2 separate regions of the Homo sapiens genome follow, and region 2 is linked to region 1. The links are contacts of gene promoters, found by promoter capture Hi-C in blood cells and fetal thymus (Javierre and others, 2016). All regions are on one chromosome and are shown on one strand. The core of a region is centred on a gene start or on the middle of the fragment in contact, and the rest is flanking DNA. Distances in the headings are between cores, read along the strand shown.

Region 1 (2,831 bases), core at 141-2,640:
GGTCTTGATCTCCTGACCTCGTGATCCGCCCGCCTTCGCCTCGCAAAGTGCTGGGATTACCGGCGTGAGCCACCGCGCCCGGCCGAGACCCTTTCTTAAAATAAATAAAATAATAAAATAACAATTTAAAAATAGATAACTTCTATATAACACCCAGTGAATGACAAAATGGTTTCAAAAAAAATTCCCGAGGGGTTGGTAAGATAGTATACTACTATGAAAGGATAAAAACCAAAAAACGCCGAAAATGTTCATGTAATGTTTAAGAACATTGGGCTTTGGAGTAAAATCTGGTTTATAGTCTAGACTCTCTCCTTGGAAGAGTGATAGAACTTCTCTGAGCTTCCGTTTTTTCTTTTTTTTCTTTTCTGGTTTTGTTTTTTTTTTTTTTTTTTTTTGACGGAGTCTCGCTCTGTCGCCCAGGCTGGAGTGCAATGGCACGATCTCGGCTCATTGCAACCTCCGCCTCCCAGGTTCAAGCGATTCTCCTGCCTCAGCCTGCCGAGTAGCTGGGACTACAGACACGTGCCACCACGCCCGGCTAATTTTTATGTATTTTTAGTAGAGACGGGGTTTCACCGTGTTGGCCAGGATGGTCTCGATCTCCTGACCTCGTGATCCGCCCGCCTCGGCCTCCCACAGTGTTGGATTACAGGCTTGAGCCACCGCGCCTGGCCGAGCTTCCGTTTTTCTTTCTATAAAATTGGGATGATACGAATATCATAGTGCTGTTTTTAGGATTAAACCAGATTATAGTTGTAAAAGAGCAGAACCTGTTGTAGGATAAACCCTCAATAAATGTGAAATGTTAACAATTATTGTTAAATAAATGTTACAGAACAATGCTCTCACCCCCACCTCCCCGGGCTACCCGGGGTAAGAAAGGGTAGACAAAGAGGAAAAATCCTCCACATGGGGCGATACATCCTCCTATTTTAAGGAAGAATCCAGAGGCTACCATGCATCTTTCCTAGCATATACATCACTTTGTCATTATCTGGTACAGAGTCGGCCCTGAAACTACACCCTTTCTATTTTTCATCCAATCACATCACCCGTGAAAGGCACTCTCCCTTCTCCACCCTTTCTTGCCCCTACTCCCACCCCTAGCTTCCCAGTTTACTTTTCCCAGTCACTCATTCCCCTCTTCCCCGCCCCGCCCAGAGGTCGTGGCTTCTCCCTCGCCCCGCCTATTTTCTAATTTTCCCGCCTCAGTAGCTCTTGGCCATTTGGGGATGTAGTTGTTTCTTTTCCCCCGCCTCTTCGTGACGTTTCAGAAATAAGACCTATGATTGGTTTTTCCGGAGCAAGAGCCGGCCAATGACAGGCAGATATTTTTGGTGCAGATGGGCAGCCAGTATTATCGCCGATGATTGGCTGGAGTGGCCCGAGTCGGGAAAATGGCTGCGAGTACCTCCATGGTCCCGGTGGCTGTGACGGCGGCAGTGGCGCCTGTCCTGTCCATAAACAGCGATTTCTCAGATTTGCGGGAAATTAAAAAGCAACTGCTGCTTATTGCGGGCCTTACCCGGGAGCGGGGCCTACTACACAGTAGCAAATGGTGAGATGTTGGAGTGGGAAGGGACGGGGCTTGGATCCTTGGCCTTGGGGGGCTTGTCGAGCTGATCTAGTTTGTGTGGGTGTTCCAGGTCGGCGGAGTTGGCTTTCTCTCTCCCTGCATTGCCTCTGGCCGAGCTGCAACCGCCTCCGCCTATTACAGAGGTAAGGACATGTTTACAGTGAGCGCTCCCCATCAACCCAGGGGTGTGCCTCAAGAGCCACTGAGTGCCCTGTCACTGGAGGAGAGCAAACTGCTTAGCAGAAATGTTTGTAGAGGGAATTCAGGCATTCAAAGAGCTGAGTGTTTTAAATGATTTTATCCATTTAGTTTTCTTGAGCTTTGAAAGACTTGGTGGTGCTCTTATTTAAAGCTGGGGAGAATTAGTAAACAATTACTGCTTATGATTTCAGCCTTTTAGGGCTTATAGCCAAACCTAGACATAAGAGTGCCTCATAATAGTAAATATTATTATAAGGAATTATTATAAGGATATCTCATAATAAATACCCAAAAGGATGAGAAGAATCAAAAGTTTTGGTCTGGCGCGGTGGCTCACGCCTGTAATCCCAACACTTTAGGAGGCCGAGGTGGGCGGATCACGAGGTTAGGAGTTCGAGACCAGCTTGGCCAACACGGTGAAACCCCGTCTCTAGTAAAAATACAAAATTAGCCGGACATGGTGGCGCGCGCCTGTAATCCCAGTTACTCGGGAGGCTGAGACAGGAGAATCGCTTAAACCCGGGAGGCGAAGGTTGCAGTGAGCTGAGATCGCGCCATTGCACTCCAGCCCGAGGGCAGAGCGGGACACTGTCTCAAAATAAATAATAAATAAATAAAGTTTTTACAATACCTACACTGTTGTCTGATCAGCATAGCAAATAATGGTTAAGTTTGGGTGCTGGATTGAGACGACTCTGGGTTCAAATGACCTTTGGCAACTTAACCTTCTGAGCCAGTTTCCTCATCTGTGCAGTGACGATAGTAATAGTATCTACTCAATGGGGATATTGAGAGAAGTCAATGAGATAATAATATAGACCGCTTAGAAGTGTGCCTGGTGCTTGCATCTATATTTCGGTCAAGTTCTTTATTAGCAGCACCAATGTGGGCAAATGATTTCTAAGTGACAGCCTTCTCATCTATAGATAATGTTAATAATTGCTGCATTTTCAAGAAGATTAAATAAAGCAATAAGGGTAAAGCATACGGTATACTCTTAGGTAAATTTTTTGAGTCAATGCAGTTTATATTTGTCTCATTAGCTTTTACT
Region 2 (2,861 bases), core at 240-2,739, 210 kb before region 1:
ATTGTTATGCTTCATTCTCACCCTGGGGAAATCACTTCTGTTGCCCTAATACCTACCATTGTTTTAAGGTGAAAGGACAAAAATCTGACAAGTCCAACTTTGAGAACACTTCCTCATATTGAAAATGACAATGCCATGAGCTCCCCTTCCTCAAGCACCTGCTAAAGTTTTTAAACTAGGGAGTGTTATCACACTATCAAAAAACTTGTGTGGCCTTAAAACATTTGCCTAGAAAAGTACTACCTACCTCCAACCCCTTCTCTGCCCCATCTTAAAATCACACTTAAGGATTTTTCTCTAAAGATATCAATGCCAGATCACCACCTAACAGAAATTTCAACTGCCTTTTTAAGAACACAGAACTATACAGCTTAGAAACAAGAGGATGCAAAGTGTGTTTTTAGTAATCTCCTTGCTTTTATTTATTTATTATTTATTTATTTTTGAGGTGGAATCTTGCTCTGTAGCCCAGGCTGGAATGTAGTGGTATGATCTTGGCTCACCGCACCCTCTGCTTCCCGGGTAAAGTGATTCTCCTGCCTCACCCTCTCAAGCAGCTGGGATTACAGGCACCCACCACCATGCCCAGCTAATTTTTTTTGTATTTTTAGTAGAGACAGGATTTCACCATGTTGGCCAAACTCCTGACCTCAGATGATGCGCCTGCCTTGGCCTCCCAAAGTGCTGAGATTACAGGCGTGAGCTATAGTGCCTGGCCATCTCCTTGCTTTTAAAAATCCAAGACAACTCGAAGTAGCAAGGCTATTACAATAACCTCACTATGTCTAAATCTCCCTGGCAAAAAGAGAGACCTGGAATTGTCCAGGTATCTGTGGTAGGCAGGCAGAGAATTGGCCCTTGGAACGACTTATTCTTGCTTACCTGACCTTGCTTCCAACACTCCCGGAAGATCTTCCAATTGTTTTTGTTGCTGGGGTCATGGAGACACAGAAGCCTCCCATCACAAAGCCAGGAGTGAGAAGTATGGGGATCTAGCACATTTAACCCCATCACCATCTCCTTCACTTCCTTCTGGGTATCAGTCAAGTTGCAGGCCCGCTTTGAAGCATCTGAGGTTTTCTTATTTTCTACCACTGAGGCAATGATGTGGTCAAGAAAGTTGGGTAGGCTGGCCTTGCTCTTCACTCCCTGCCAGACACAAATCCACCAGGTAAGCTTGACTGAGGCACCATGAGAACGGCATTCAAAAAACTGTCTCACAATTGTATTCACAAGGAGTTCTGACCTGTCTGATTAAATTCTACAAAAATTATTAAAATGTCTTTTACAACTGGAAGGGGGATAATAAGTCAACATCTTAAATTCTTTTATCCTTCATATTTTACCTTAACATTTAGGAAAGAAAAGTATAGAAAGATCCCTTTTGCCTCGAGAGATCTGAGACCTAAGAAATACCTTTGGCATCAGCCATTCAGTATACAAAGCACACATGCATGTAGACTGTAGGGATCATCAAATGCTGTAACTGAGTGTAAAAAGGTCACTCAGTTTGAGGGTTCTAAATTTTTCCTAACCAGCATGCCCAAGGGATACAATACTTCAATTAAGTAACTGAAGTGACTTATCAAGGCAATGGTTTTCTACCAGGGAGTACCTCAATGAAGGGTGTAGCAGAGTGTCCAAGAGGAAGTACATTCTGAAAGCAGTCTCCTACTCTCCAATTTTTTCCTCACTACCATCCCACTGAGAATCACTCACCTGTTTCAGCTGATGGGAAAGCTCAGGCCCAGAGATGAAAGTGACATACCTAAGGTCACAGAACTGAAGGTAGGGAAGCTTTTATAAACTGGATAATCCTATGCTTACAGTATTACTAATCCCTATCTCTATAAAGTATGTATAATTATGTAACATCATGGGAGAATTAGAAAAAGAACTGGCAGTATGATGAACAAGTATACATAAAACGGTACCCAAAGTAATTGTTTTGTTTGCTTTTTAAAATTTACTTATCCAGGCTGGGCACGGTGGCTCATGCCTGTTAATCCCAGCACTTTGGGAGGCCAAGGCAGGTGGATTACCTGAGGTCAGGAGTTCGAGACCAGCCTGGCCAACATGGTGGCCAACCCTGTCTCTACTAAAAATACAAAAATTATCCCAGTGTGGTGGCACGTGCCTGTAGTCCCAGCTACTTGCTCGGGAGGCTAAGGCAGGAGATTTGCTTGAACCTGGGAAGTGGAGGCTGCAGTGAGCTGAGATCGTGCCACTGCACTCCAGCTTGGGCAACAGAGTGAGACTGTCTCAAAAAAAAAAGTTACTTATCCAAAAGAGAAACAAATAACCCAAATTGTATAGAGGGCTCAGTCACCCACAGTTCATCACGTTTCAGCCATTAGTCATAAAACCCAAGAAGAAATGTATTTATGTATTCGCTTGAAATGATTTGCAGGACATATAAACTAAAAATCAGAATAGCAAGGTGTAGAACATTTAGGGGAAAAACATACATATGATAATATCTCGAGAAACACTGGAGACTTCTAGAAAGGGAAACAGGTGGTTGGGAGGCAAGGGTGCAAAGGAAACTTTTCAGTCGAAACCTTTTTTATTTTATTTATTTTTTTGAGATGGATCTCCCTCTGTCACCCAGGCTGGAGTGCGGTGGTGCGATCTTGGCTCACTGCAACTTCTGCCTCCCAGGTTCAGGCGATTCTCCTGCCTCAACCTCCCGAGTAGCTGGGATTATAAGCATGTGCCATCATGCCTGGCTAATTTTTGTAGTTTTTTAGAAAGAGTCAGGATTTTGCTACGTTGGTCAGGTTAGTCTCGAACTCCTGACCTCAAGTGATCTGTCCGCCTCAGCCTCCCAAAGTGCTGGGATTACAGGTGTGAGCCACTGT

The links. The method cuts DNA at HindIII sites, captures the fragments that hold promoters and counts their contacts. A CHiCAGO score of 5 or more calls a contact.
Region 2: a contact is called between a fragment that was not itself captured here and the fragment with the promoter of CDC23 in region 1, in 2 of 17 cell types (M2 macrophages and M1 macrophages). The highest score is 5.6, in M2 macrophages.

The regions. Positions count from the first base shown.
Region 1 is chr5:138,211,882-138,214,712 of GRCh38, reverse strand. It overlaps CDC23 (cell division cycle 23), which reads left to right and starts at 1,390. Exons shown (of 16, transcript NM_004661.4): 1 at 1,390-1,561; 2 at 1,650-1,722. The coding sequence starts at 1,401. RefSeq lists an enhancer at 1,079-1,373. The HindIII fragment of the contact is 10,377 bases long and covers 1-2,831 here.
Region 2 is chr5:138,422,363-138,425,223 of GRCh38, reverse strand. KDM3B (lysine demethylase 3B) reads right to left here. Exons shown (of 24, transcript NM_016604.4): 16 at 883-1,149. Among named protein-coding and RNA genes, the nearest start is that of REEP2, 15 kb to the left of the region's middle. The HindIII fragment of the contact is 621 bases long and covers 1,179-1,799 here.